5 separate regions of the Homo sapiens genome follow, and all the other regions are linked to region 4. The links are contacts of gene promoters, found by promoter capture Hi-C in blood cells and fetal thymus (Javierre and others, 2016). All regions are on one chromosome and are shown on one strand. The core of a region is centred on a gene start or on the middle of the fragment in contact, and the rest is flanking DNA. Distances in the headings are between cores, read along the strand shown.

Region 1 (2,700 bases), core at 13-2,512, 1.2 Mb after region 4:
GAATGTAAATACCACGAGTTGAGACAGGTCTGGGCCCCGGACAGAGCGGTCCGTGGTTTTAGCAATTCATTTTAATTCCGAAGCGGTCCAGTGCATTTGCTTTCACTTGGTTGCGCGGGGCTGGAATTGATAAGAGAGAAAACCATGTACTTGTCCTTGTGGGTTGGGAAACAGGGTCACTGAATCCTGGGCTGGCTCTCACAGCTTCCTGGCAGAGTTCACACACGCACTCAGAGGCTGCGCCAGCCCTGTACCGCAGGACTGCGGGCGCTCCCTTGCCGGCACTCCTCCTTCGGTTCAGAAACCAAAGTGGAAACGCATGGATCAAGTTGCAGGGAAGTCTGACATCTGGGACAGATGTTGCTCCTCTGCCCGTGGCGGTTCCTCAGATAAATCCTCATTGCTTTATTTTAATTTGCCTTTGAATTTCGTTATTTTTGCCTCAATGCAACACATAGTCTTTTTTTTTTCTGCTTTATTTAACTCTCACGGTCCTCTGCGCTATTTTTATCAATGGTATAACTTTATTTTGGGAAAGGGATTATTTCCCCCTCAGAAATGGGGGGAAATAATCAAATCTCCAGTCAATTATGTCTTGAAATTTAACTCTGCTTTTACTGGTCCATCATAAAACATTTAAACCGTTAAAAACATGTCCCTCACTGATCAACTTTAGTTGTTTTGTGTTTTAAAACATGGAAATACAACCCCTGTGTGTGTATGTCACATTACGGACAGACCATATTAATCTCTTTCTCACAGAAAAAACATCTGCGTGTGTGAGTCTAAGTAATTATTCATCTAGGGTAACAAATTCTAGAAGGCTTGACCTACCTTCCTTCCTCCCTTCCTTCCTCCCTTCCTTCCTTCTTTCCTTCCTTCCTTCCTTTTTCTTTTCCTTTCTCTTTTTCTTTTTTTGTGCTTCTTTGTATCTAATACCCAGGGGCATTAACAACATCTCCTCTGCCTCGTCTTCCCGTGTGTAGAGGGACCCGTCTCACGTCCAACAATAGATACCCCTTTTATTATATATTTTTCCTTTTGTTTTTCTTGACCAACAATTTCCCTTCAGTTATTTATTTTAGCTGGGTAACCCCAAGCTATATGCTCCGTGTAAACCAGAATGGTGTGGTCGGTTTTGTGACAGGTAGTGGCTTCCTGAGCTGGCTCTGATGCGCACCTCTGAGGCGAGCCAAGGCGGAAACTGTCATTCCTAGAGGAAAGCGATGCCCGTCTGGGAAGAATCTGGGAAACCCCAGCATTCCTATGAGCTGCGGCCCACTAAGCGCCCCTGACCGCAGTGATCACTGTCTCCTAGATTTTTTGACAATGTTGTTTTGCTTTGTTTTAAAATATTATCGTTACTGCTGAGAAACGTGGACTCTTATGATGAAGACCTGCCGGGCCTTCCCCAGCCATTTCACTCCCTGGCCTCCTCCAAGATGGCTTTCATTTAGGGAGGGTCAGACTCATCTAGGTGACATTTCCCCGAGCCTTTCAGTCAAGTTGGTCTACAAATTCACCAAATTAGTGCTTGGTCTACATCTAGGGCTTCCTGCACGGAAAGGCCAATAGAAAAGTCCACGACTTGACTTTTACGCCACATCACTACAGCCACAAAACGGGGACCTCCTCGGGACTGGAGGCGGATCCTCCACGGGTCCCCGGCCAGGCCCATCCTCCTCGCAGCGCGCCTGGTGCGGCCGTACCAATTCCGCGCCGTGCAGCCTGGAGTTACAGGCCCCGACCGAGCCAAGATCTGAGGCTGCCGGGCCCTCCCTGTTTACTGGGGGCTCTGCTACCGGAAGTCATTTGACAAATCTCAGGCAGGCCTTTCTAATCTTTACTGCTCGGCAGAGCTTTGCAAATCTCTAAACACGCTGTAACCTTCTTCAAACAGCACGCCAGACACACTTGAAGGTTTTTTTTTTTTTTTTGAGGCCGGACGGAATGGAAACTGCATCTGCACGGGATCTCTCCACAGTCTGGCCCGCAACACTGCCAGCACCTTCCCTAGACCCTCGCCTCCCCGCTTCCCCCGCACGCGGATTCTCGCGCATCCGTGCGCCCACTCAGCCCCGGGAGCCCTCCTGCCCCGGGAAGCCTCAGACGGTCTTGGGCTGGAGACTCACCCTGCGCCCCTGCAGCGGGCTGCGGGGAGAGAACCTTGGGGAACCAGGCAGGACCGGCAAGGGTGGACCGAGTGATTTATGACCCTGATCAAACTTTTTAGGAAGCAGAAATTAACCTGAGGGAGATTAGGCCTGAGCTTTGAAGTTCACGGTTTTGTTTTCCTTCAGCCCAGTTCTGCCATCAGATGGTTCTTGGTTCCTTCTACCCCTCTCCTCCTCCCCCTCCTTCGGTCTCTCGTCACCCCACTTTATCCTCCAGCAACCCCTCCTGCGTTGATTTTCTTAATTTCAAATACAAATATCTGAACACCAGAAACTGAAGTTCCTGACAGTGACCTATTGAACAGAGGCATCGCATACTCCCTACATCCCAGTCTTCTTGGAATTGCGTTTTACGTTTGAAAGTGCGATTTTGGTTTGGAGGTCGGGAGTAGAAAATTTGTATCTGTTCTTTTCTTTTGCTGTTTCCTACTTGCCTTTCAATACCCATACTTATTCCGCCCTCGGAGACTGGCCCTTCCCGGCAGAGCAGAAGCGCACGAGGGTTGAGTAACTCTGCAGGTGAGAG
Region 2 (2,700 bases), core at 141-2,640, 1.2 Mb after region 4:
CACTTTTATATTTTTTAACTGTGCACTAATTTGTTTCATCATTAACCTTGGGTTTTACCCTTGGTAATTATGGTAATTCATAATTTGGGTTGTGTCAGGTGCTAGTGGATTCAAACAATACATATTGTGGGAACCATCAATAGCTTTGGTAGTCAGGATTCTTTAGTTTGCAGGGGACAGAAAAAAGGCTTGGCAGGCTGGAGGGTAGAGGGGCAGGGTTCCGCAGAAGATTCCCAGGAATGGTTTTTAGTTGGCCAAGGACTCTGGTGGAGGAAGGGGGATGCTGAGTGGCCTAGGTCAGGCACTTACCCGACCCTCCCTAACTCCTCCTTCTGAAATCAGAGAGGGAGGAATCTGTGATAGAAGAAGGAGGAAAAGGAATGGATAGCCCCAAACACTGCGCACTATAATAGTTAATCATATTGATAGTGAGCGCGCGGTCTCTCTCTCTCTTTCTCTCCAGGCAGCCAAAGACTGCCACCATATGCAACTGGGTCCTGCATTTTTCATCTGCATCACCAATTTGTCACTCGAAAACCCAGGTCTCAATCCTCCCTGATTTTTCCAGAAACACCACTAGTATCCAATTCAGTAGGTCCCTATCATGGGCAGTGCGGGGGCGCCGGGCGTGGGCGACGCTCGTGTGTGACTCGCAGCTGGGCAGCCATCCCCGCGGGCGTCCTGGCTCCCCTTCCCTCTGAAAGCGCCGGGGCGGGCCAGCAGGGGGCGAGTTTCATTTCCGCACCGGAGACCCAGCCGGAATCACAAATGCCGCGAACTACACCCTCCTTTCCTGATCTGGCCAGGAGTCTGTGTCATTAAAACTCTCAGTTCTGCTTTTCCCTATATTAACATTATCTTCATTTTGAGCACATCACGTTCAGTGACAGAAAAGGAGATCCCATGAGTCACTGGAGGTAGACTTAAAATAGCTTAAGGATGATATTTCATGGATGTTAGTGACATCAGTCGAAGAAGCAGTGCTTTCAAAGAGCAGAATTCCTCATATTCACTCTTCGGATACCCAGCAGTTTTCCAGGTCTTGGTCTATACCCAGCCTTTTTCTTGGAGGAAGGTGCTCATCTTCCCACACAGGCTACACAGGGGGCAGGGAAAGTTGGGACAGGTGGCACAAGGCCATGTGAAGCCCCCCGTCCTCCTGCCGGGGCATCTTACATATTGCTGCCACTGCCGAGGGGGCATATCTGTGTATAGCTGCCCAGCAGAGTACAGGGAAGGTGTTATGTGGGAAGGAAGACTCCTGGGTGGGTAGGAGTTTGGGCTAAGTCCCTCCTGGTCCAGGTAACTTAGCTGGCCCCTGCAGATATGAGTGGTGGGAGACGGGATCCGGCGGGTGAGAGAGGGGAACCACAGAACCACAGGCTTTTCTCAGGTCGGGGAAAGACCTTAGAGATCACTTAGCTCAATGTCTTCTTTTCCTGACGCCCAGGGAAATTGTGAACAAATTCACCACCACAGAACTAGGCAAGTCCCCTGGTGGGCAAATGGACACCTTCACAGAAGCCATTTTCTTTCCTTGTGTATTATGTATCAAAGGCTAACTGTTTAACAAGCAACCCCGTGTCACAGTGGCTTAACACAAAACAAGTTATTTCTTGCTCTTGGACCACTGAAAGCGTTTCTTGGACAGCTTCCATGCAGTGATTCAGGGACCCAGGCACCTTTCATTCTGTGGCCCCACCATCCCTAAGGGCCTTAATGTTTGCTGCTGAGTACTCTGCATCTGGCTGTGACAGGTAGAGAGAGAGAATGAAGGACTGTGCAGGAGGTGGGCAGGCCTCACTGCCACTCACATTCCACTAGCTAGACGCCACTCTCAGGGCCAACCTTCCCCCAAGGGGAGCTGGGAAATGTAGTCCAGCTGTGTGCACAGGAAGCAGATAGGATGGCTCGGGGCAAGCACACAGCAGTGTCTGCCTCACCTATCTTCAAAGAAAACAGTCTTTGAGTTCTTTTGGGTTATTTACACTGGGTAGCAGAAGGCACATGATCTTTGGAGGTGGACAGACTTGGGTTTGGATATTGGCAGTGTGACCTTGGGCAAAGAAGTAACCTTTAGCCTCAGTTTGCTCAGCTGGTAAATGGGGCTATCTTGTGGGTATTACCTGAGGTAAGGAATGTAACTTGTCTATGTTACCACGTGGTCTCACATGTTTGTTTGTACAAACCAATGGGGCTGGGAGTATTGTTGGGGGAGGAGGAAACAGACTTCCTGTGTCCCATTTCCCCCACTCTGGATGGCAGCACTGCCCAACAGCTTCATTAGACGCCAAGAGTGGTGGCACTTTCTTCTGTCACTTGTTAAATTTCGATGTAGTTCATTCTAATCAATATGGGACTTTGGAAGGAAAAAAAGCATTCCCCAAACCCACAAGCAACCATTTTATTTGATTCATAAAAATTCAGTCACTGAGAAGGCAGTTCCAGCAAGAGAGTTTTGATCCTTCTTGCTCAGGCTGAGATGGTCACATCTAGAAAGCAGTGATTTTAAAATCCTATTTTCTTCTGAAAAAAAAAAAAATTTTTCTGAAGGGCAGTGAAAAGAGAAATAATCTAAGCTGAAGTGTCACTTTTCACTTATGGATATTGATGCTCTAAGACTAAATCTGGCTGACAGGAGTAAAGAGAACTGCCTTCTCATCATGGGTGAGACCCTGCAGGGTGAGATGTGGCTCAGGT
Region 3 (2,700 bases), core at 29-2,528, 1.3 Mb after region 4:
TTACAGGGCAAACCCATGCAATAATGTCATGACTTATAATGCCAAATATTTTTGCTTTTGGTGGTCCCCTGAGTCTCAGAGACAGAAGCAGGAGCTACTTTGTTTATTCATGATGCATTTATTGAGCCCTTACATCATTTGAGGCACTGTCCCGGACCCTGTGGAGACTGAAGATGAACGGGACCTGGATCCTGCTCTCGAGGGGTGGGGATGAAGTGGTGAGGCTGAGGCATGCGCATATCAAGGCACGAAGGCATGTCTGAAAATGCGGGTGTTGCAGAGGTGCAGGAAATTCCTATGGAAGGTCAGAGTCAAGAGAGATTGTATGTACCTTGTACATGAGATGAGGCTTCTTGGAGGAGGTGGCATTTAACTAGGTGAATAATATGGGCAAATCCAGAAAAGGTGATATCAAGTGGGAATGGTATTTTTACTCCATTTTCCTTGAAAAAAATGACTGTAGGTACATGTATTTTTTATGGAAATTAGGGTCAGAAAATGATCTGAGTGGATTTTACTTCAACTTCCAGCTCTAGATTTTTTTTGTACAAGGCATGTGACTTTAAAGCAAGAAAAGTGTAAAAATTAAAAATGCAAGACAGAAGAGCAAGTCAATATGGGCGTTGTGGGTCACAAAGGGCATTTCTTCCACATTAGAGTAATTCATCAGGTCATTGTGCCAGATAAATATAATATCTGAAATCAAAAAGCATGAGCAAAGTTTGAAAACTCTCCATTTCCACATGTGACCTTTACCTATTTATAGAAGGAATCACAGTGGAATAAGGCAATCATCCTTTCTCGGAAAGCAAGAAGGATGCATTTCCTGGCACCGTAAATAGAATGTCTGTGAGTCTCTGGCCACCCCCTCTCCTTAGCAGACAGCAGACAGTGGACGGTAACAGCCCCTGTCTTTTGGGTAGGAATAATTAATGGGGCAAGCGTATGTCTGTGGCTTTTGAGCAGCTAAGGTGAAACTGCTTGTCCATTTCAGCTTTCACTTAAACCACTGGGACACTTACTTCCTGAGTCAATGGTGAGTCTGCAGTGCTAACAAAAGACTCCCATTGATTATTGCCGTGTAGTAATTGCTGCCAGTGTGAGGCTGTCCCTCACAATTTGTTGACATCTCTTGACAATTTAAATATGGCCCATGCTAAAGGCCTGAAGCCATCAGAATGCAGGGTGAGGAATGAAAAGGCAAATATGAACTTTTCCAGCAAACTCAAGTGCAGGGTGCAAAAAAGCATCTCCAGTGATGACATTTTAATTGTACATTAGGAGTCTTTTCAGTGGAGCCTCCTGGCTCTGCTTATGCTGAGAGGTTGCTAGTAAGCTAAATCCCAGTAGTCCCCACAATACTTTGTAAATAAGAGGAGGCAGTGATGTATCCATTAGTACATGAACATCCCCTCGGATTTTAAAACAAAGGCATGTTAGGAACCACCAGAAGGAAAGGTTTCATATCATGGGTGAGGTGGAAGTTGGCAGCTGCATCTGGAAAACCAGTTTGCAACTCAGCTGCGCTTGATGCTCTGCAAACTGACCAGGGTTCAGCAAACTGTGGCCGTGGCCCAAATCCAGCTCCATGCCTGCTTGTTGTAAATAAAGTTTTATTGGAACACAGCCATGTTCACTTGTTTATATATTGTATATGGCTGCTTTCCTTCTACAACAGCAGAGTTGCTGTTGGACAGACTGTATGGCCTGCAAAGCTGAAAATAATCTACTATCTGGCCCTTTACAGAAAGAGTTTGCAGATCCCTACCCTAGATTAATGTATGCTGAAGGATGATTTTCATATTAAGCCACCAAATTAAATGTTTTGTAGGAGATTCTGTAGTCCTAGAGAAGCTGTACAAATATGTGTGGGCTTTGAGGCCTAGAAATCTGGGCTTGAGAGAAACAGGGCTATACCCTTCCCTTATTATAAAAACTTTTAAAACTTTTCTGCATCATTCTCATTCTACTTCTCTAAGATACTCATGTTCTTAGCTAAAAGTTCCCGCCTCCTGTGACTTTAGGGATCATGGGAAAACTGGTGGAATTTTATTTCCCTTGGAGCCTTACAATCTAAACTGCTAATTCTTAAATGGAGGTGTAAACGCTTTTGATTGACATTTGGTTTAAGTATGACCATTAAAAACTCCCAGTGCCACAGGTAGATTTAGTAAAAGTTAACCATGCTTGTTCTGGCATTCCATAGTTAAATTTAAGTTTTATGGACTGCTTAGAGAAAGAATTCTTTATAGCTGGGAAGGAATTAACCTTTAAGGCACCAGTTTGCTGTAATTGTTAAAATTAGCATAGTTACTTGGGTGAAAAACTCTAAAATGTTCTATACTCTTGCTTGCTTTGGCAGCACATATACCAAAATGTTCTCTACTCTTTTATTGTAAAGGTCCCTAGTTTAGGTCTGTCACCAACATGGATGCTGAATTGAGACCCAGCACTAGAGGTCACTTCCTACCCTCAATGTTATAAAACTCTTATACATGTGGAGAAGATGTCCTTTGCCTTGGATGAAAAGCCAGCAGATTGTAGTGTTGAGAAAGATCCTGAGGATGCATCCAGGAGCAGTAGGGAAGAACTCCACGATCGATATCAATGGTTGATATCTGTGATGCTTCAAGACAGAAAGTGATGGCAACTCATGCTGCGTAATTGTTTTTCTTGCTCTGTGGTTTCAAGGGCTGTGGA
Region 4 (2,700 bases), core at 158-2,657:
GATGAGGCTCAGATTTGCATGTGTCTCTCTAGGGAAGGACTTGAAGGTTCTCATAAGCAACTACACAGCCAGTTGGAAAGGGGAGGAGGTGTCGTTGGGGTAAAGTGTCCCGTCCACCATCAGCCATTTGTCCACCGCCCCTCCCACCTGCCAGCCCCCACACCCACTCTAGACGTGCAGCAGAATGAGGAAGGTTATAAAAGGAAGCTCTCTCTCTCTTCTAACATTCCCCTCCAGAAAAAGAGGAACGCAACGAAGGGAGTTCAGCTACTATGTTGGAGCTGTGGACCGGCCCTGTGAGGCCCACGCGGGAGCGCGGAGGCTCCTGGGTCTCAGGGCGCCGGCAGATGGCCTGCAGCGCACCGCCCGGCCCCCGCGCTGGCCACGTCCGCCAGCGTCATCTCTCTCCCCCGCCTCCTACCCCTAAAAATCCGGCGGTCGAGTAGCTCCGCATCCCGGAGGGCTCCCGGTGCAAAACTGAGTGGGAAAGAGAAAGGGGCGGAGAGCGACGAGAGAGGGAAGGTGGGGAAGAAGAGCCCGGCCGCCCCCGGCCTTTTCCGGCGAGCTCTGAGTTTCCAGGGCTCATCCGCCCCTCCAAGTCGAATTACAGAAACTCCTCATTGCCATGCTAATGACGAGAGGGGCTGTGGGGAGAGGGTTTCGAAGACCCTCCTGGAAGAAGGGAAGTTTCTTTTCTTGCCCTCGTCTCCTTCACGCCCACCCGAGTTCCTCCCAGCCAGCCCTCTGCGCTCTTCCCCCTCCATTCCGAGCTTGAAGAGCCGGTGGCCCAGCCTCGCCCTCCACCACGGTTCTATGCGCTCCTCACAGCCCCACGGTCTCCCAGCCCAGCCTCAGAACAGAGGAGGTGGCCTGGGAACCCGGGGCGCGGTGTCAGCCGGATTCCCCGCCTTCCGGCTGGGCGCGCTGCGGGCTGGGCCGGCGTACTTGCGGCCACCCGGCGAGCTCTGGCCCACTGATTCCCGCCCCGAGAGAGCCGGGAGCCCTCTTCCCTTCTCACCTCTCGCCAGTTCATCTTTCATTGAACGGTGGGGAGGGGGCGGGAGCGGGGGACGCCTCCCAGCCCCCACCTCCCGGAGGCCTGGCGGGGCGGGCAGCGGAGTCGGGCGCGCGCAGAACGCAGCTTTTGCTCTTCTTCGCTCCAGCACTCCAAATCGGCCTTTGCAGTCGCCGCAGCAGCTGCCGCCGCCTAGGCTGCCTGGGGGGGCGACTGCGCGTCACCTAGACGGCGGAGCGCCGGGGATTTAAATGCCACTAAAACGGTGATCCATCACTGCGGAAGCCGGCAAACTTTTGCAGGAGGCTCAGCCATTGGCTGACACCGTCACGTGCCCCTCCTCCAGCGTCCTCCGCCCTCCCGCCCCCCCTCTTGCGCACTGTACATTCATATCATTTTTCTTCTCCGGCCCCATGGAGGAAGTGAGAAAGTTGGCACAGTCACGCCGGGCTTCGCAGGACCAGGTCACTCAGTGACAGATGGACAATGCAAGAATGAACTCCTTCCTGGAATACCCCATACTTAGCAGTGGCGACTCGGGGACCTGCTCAGCCCGAGCCTACCCCTCGGACCATAGGATTACAACTTTCCAGTCGTGCGCGGTCAGCGCCAACAGTTGCGGCGGCGACGACCGCTTCCTAGTGGGCAGGGGGGTGCAGATCGGTTCGCCCCACCACCACCACCACCACCACCATCGCCACCCCCAGCCGGCTACCTACCAGACTTCCGGGAACCTGGGGGTGTCCTACTCCCACTCAAGTTGTGGTCCAAGCTATGGCTCACAGAACTTCAGTGCGCCTTACAGCCCCTACGCGTTAAATCAGGAAGCAGACGTAAGTGGTGGGTACCCCCAGTGCGCTCCCGCTGTTTACTCTGGAAATCTCTCATCTCCCATGGTCCAGCATCACCACCACCACCAGGGTTATGCTGGGGGCGCGGTGGGCTCGCCTCAATACATTCACCACTCATATGGACAGGAGCACCAGAGCCTGGCCCTGGCTACGTATAATAACTCCTTGTCCCCTCTCCACGCCAGCCACCAAGAAGCCTGTCGCTCCCCCGCATCGGAGACATCTTCTCCAGCGCAGACTTTTGACTGGATGAAAGTCAAAAGAAACCCTCCCAAAACAGGTCAGTCCTGCTGGTTGGTGGATGCTCCTTGATTATTCTGGAAGGAGCTGGTATGCTTAATTTCCAAGGAAATTAATAATGATCTTTTTTTTAAAAGGCTTTTGTATCAGACTAGTGTTGTAGTGCATGGAGAGGGTGCCCAGAGGTGTTGGGGCAAAGAAGTCTCAGGGATTGGTGTGTTTTCAAGGATTTTATACATTTGGGAAATAGGAAGTATGTGGGGGTGGTTATTGTGACGGTAGTGTTCTGTTAATATCTTGAGGCTCCATTAATCACCGGTCTGACCATGCTAATGGTTTACATCAGGTTAACACTTTACACCTCATCACTCACCCTCCACAGCCCGATTTGTGCTGAGTTCTTGATCTTTTCTTTACCTGAGTGTTGCCATGAAGCGTGTGGGGAATCTCAAGTCGATTTAAAAATTTTTACATTTCCGTCTCATGGCTTCCCACTTTGCCCCAGGGAAAGTTGGAGAGTACGGCTACCTGGGTCAACCCAACGCGGTGCGCACCAACTTCACTACCAAGCAGCTCACGGAACTGGAGAAGGAG
Region 5 (2,700 bases), core at 39-2,538, 1.2 Mb after region 4:
GAGTATCCCTGGAGAACATTAGACTGGCACCACATGCATAAACATTCATATATAACATGTAAATTAGAAACAATCTCAGGATTTATATAGAAATTACAGCCACTTCTAGCAAATTAATTCAATGACAGAAAAAGGGTTACTGTCTCTCTTCAAATCAAGAGGGGGAAATATTGGGCAAAGCAGATTTATTTATTCCAGGGTCTTGTTCCTTGCCAGGAGCTGATGTCCCCTTGGCCTGGAGATTTCCATTTTTTTTGTTGGATATGTATTGGTGATTGAATTTACTTTGAATATAGGAGCAGTCAGTGAGGACCATAATGGGCTGTTTTAAGTTATAGCATAGCTAATACAGTCATAAAGTCAATTGGGCTAGAAGAGTTTGCAATAGGGAAATGATGGAAGAAGGCAAGTTAAAATATTCAAGATTATTGAATCTTAGAGCTGCAAAGCCCCAAGAGCGCAAACTTACCATTTCATAGATGAAAATACTGAGCCCCAGAGAAGATGTAGTCCACCCAAGAAAACAAAGAACATGATTGATAAAGTCAAACCAGAAACTGAGTCTTCTCCCCTGTAGTTAAGTGCCCTGAACACTTCATGAAGTCCCTCATCTTTGATATTAAAATAGAATGGGCAAGTGACATTTTCTTGGAGAATTCTGTGCTGAGCTCTTTTGTTGGTGATTTTGCTACTAGGAACTGTGGCAGACTGTCAAAAAGGCCCCAATTCTTCAACTTCCCTGTGTGTCCTTCTCAATGTGACTTTGTAGTCCTTGAATCTGGGCTGGGCAAAGTCACAAACTTGCTTTGGCCAACAGAAGGCAATGAAGTACCAGCCGAGTCTAGACTCCAGAGAACCAAGCAAGTTCCACTGTGCTTCCCCTGCCGGCCACGGAGCTGTGCCTGTGCTAGCCTGCTAGAGGGATGGGGAGACTCACAGGTAGGCTTGCCAGATTCAGCAAACATTTGGGATATACTTACACTAAAAAAGTATCTATTGTTTATCTGTAATTCCAATTTAACTGGGTATCCTGCATTTTATCTGTCAACTGTACACATAGAAGAGCTCCCAGAGACATAGTTCTGTATTAGTCAGCCAAGCCTAACCCCCAAACATATGAGTGAGCCTGGCCAAAATCAGCAGATACATCTTCCCAATCCCTGGTTGATGACAAGTGCACAAGTGAACCCAATTGACACCATCAGAACCGGCCTTAGACTCAATAACAAAAAATCAGTATTGACTGACATGTAGACACTGAGGTTTGGTGGCTGTTTGTTACACAGTATTATTGTGGCAGTAGCTGACTAATACAAGGACCGTCAGTGTAAAAAATGTTCTGGGAAAATAAATTAGATTGGAGTGATCTAATTGGTCACTTCAGATGCGAGTGATCTAATTGTTGTGATATCTCCTATGTATTCTATACAGAAATAGCAGGAAAGCAATATCTTGACATGCATTCCAATACTACAATATCCAGCGTAAGTACACATTAATAGATGTATCTTGTGCGTGTTTCTGCCTTTGTGGGGCCTTGCAATTGTTCTGGCATTTTGTTTTAAATGACCCAGTTTGAGGTTTTACATCTTTGTTACAGAAGAAAATGCCAGAATGAGACAATGTAGCCTTTTCAACTTCCTCTAGCCCTTTGATACGTTCTCTCTGGATTAGTGTTTCTTCTGCTGTTTCTTTTCTGCCTTTATATGACCCCTTTCTCACCCTTCAGGGAGGTGGATGATTTAAGTGAAGGTTGGTTCTCCCTGCCCTGTAATTGTGCTTCATCTCCACTCATGGTTACATTTCCAAAGCTCAGATTCATCTATCAGAGGCCCTGAACTATGTATCTTGTCGTTGTATTAGGTTGGTGCAAAAGGAATAGCAAAAACACAATTTCTTTTGCACTGAGGTTGGTGCAAACCAAGGTTGGTGCAAAACTTTTCAAAGCACATTCACATTTATTACTTCACTGATTCCCCATAATCTCCCCATGAGAACAATTGGGCCAGGCATTGGTATCTCCCTTTGCAGATGAGGAAGCTGAGTCTCAGAGAGTTCAAGTGATTTTCCCAAGGTCACACAGCCTATCTAATGGAAGAATTAAAACTAGAACCCAGATTCTTGTTTCCTAACCTGGGACTCTGTCTGGTATCCTCTGCTGACTCCTTCATTCTGGGGCTTTGGCTAATTGATGTCATAGCCAGGTGTTTGATGGGTACCTGAATAATATTTCTGTCTAGGAGTGATTCGAGTGGAAACAGGGCATTCTTAAAGAGGCCATTAGAAATCCCCAGACCTCCACTAAAGCAGGTTTTGGTGCAGATGACTGACGACTGTATAAATGCCTTCACCTTGTAACAGCCGGTCTCAGCCTCCAGAACAGAGTCCTACATTGTGGATTAATCGCTCCATATCTCTGTTTTAAAATCATGTTATGGTCTTTTAAAGGTATGTTTTAAGATGTAATGTTCTGCAAGGAGACATGGTCCATTTAAAAGCAGTGCTGCTTTAAGGTTGCTGGTTGAGGAGAACAATTGAATGCAGATGAAGGGAAAAGTACCAGGAAACGTCTTTTTCTCTGAATCTATAAAGCAAAGGCATAAGCCACCCACCAAAATGTTAGACTTGCCTTGATTCTTTTTTTTCTTTTTAGAGATGACCTCTTGCTAGGTTACCCAGGCTGGACTTGAACTCCTGGGC

What was found. The method cuts DNA at HindIII sites, captures the fragments that hold promoters and counts their contacts. A CHiCAGO score of 5 or more calls a contact.
Region 1: a fragment that was not itself captured here is called in contact with the fragment with the promoter of HOXA1 in region 4 in 10 of 17 cell types (total B cells, naive B cells, fetal thymus and 7 more); the score reaches 32.1 in total B cells.
Region 2: a fragment that was not itself captured here is called in contact with the fragment with the promoter of HOXA1 in region 4 in 13 of 17 cell types (total B cells, naive B cells, M2 macrophages and 10 more); the score reaches 15.2 in total B cells.
Region 3: a contact is called between a fragment that was not itself captured here and the fragment with the promoter of HOXA1 in region 4, in 1 of 17 cell types (total B cells). The highest score is 10.3, in total B cells.
Region 5: a contact is called between a fragment that was not itself captured here and the fragment with the promoter of HOXA1 in region 4, in 2 of 17 cell types (naive B cells and total B cells). The highest score is 12.9, in naive B cells.

What each region holds. Positions count from the first base shown.
Region 1 is chr7:25,858,074-25,860,773 of GRCh38, reverse strand. No RefSeq gene overlaps it. Among named protein-coding and RNA genes, the nearest start is that of LINC03007, 69 kb to the right of the region's middle. The HindIII fragment of the contact is 9,868 bases long and covers 1-2,700 here.
Region 2 is chr7:25,893,556-25,896,255 of GRCh38, reverse strand. No RefSeq gene overlaps it. Among named protein-coding and RNA genes, the nearest start is that of MIR148A, 55 kb to the left of the region's middle. RefSeq lists an enhancer at 907-996. The HindIII fragment of the contact is 3,429 bases long and covers 1-2,700 here.
Region 3 is chr7:25,840,658-25,843,357 of GRCh38, reverse strand. No RefSeq gene overlaps it. Among named protein-coding and RNA genes, the nearest start is that of LINC03007, 52 kb to the right of the region's middle. The HindIII fragment of the contact is 6,074 bases long and covers 1-2,700 here.
Region 4 is chr7:27,094,707-27,097,406 of GRCh38, reverse strand. It overlaps HOXA1 (homeobox A1), which reads left to right and starts at 1,407. Exons shown (of 2, transcript NM_005522.5): 1 at 1,407-2,146; 2 at 2,612-2,700. The coding sequence starts at 1,495. HOTAIRM1 (HOXA transcript antisense RNA, myeloid-specific 1) reads right to left here and starts at 1,313. Exons shown (of 2, transcript NR_038367.1): 1 at 1,019-1,313. RefSeq lists enhancers at 445-1,017, 1,143-1,437, 2,319-2,700 and a silencer at 921-1,090. The HindIII fragment of the contact is 6,567 bases long and covers 1-2,700 here.
Region 5 is chr7:25,874,852-25,877,551 of GRCh38, reverse strand. No RefSeq gene overlaps it. Among named protein-coding and RNA genes, the nearest start is that of MIR148A, 74 kb to the left of the region's middle. The HindIII fragment of the contact is 3,960 bases long and covers 1-2,700 here.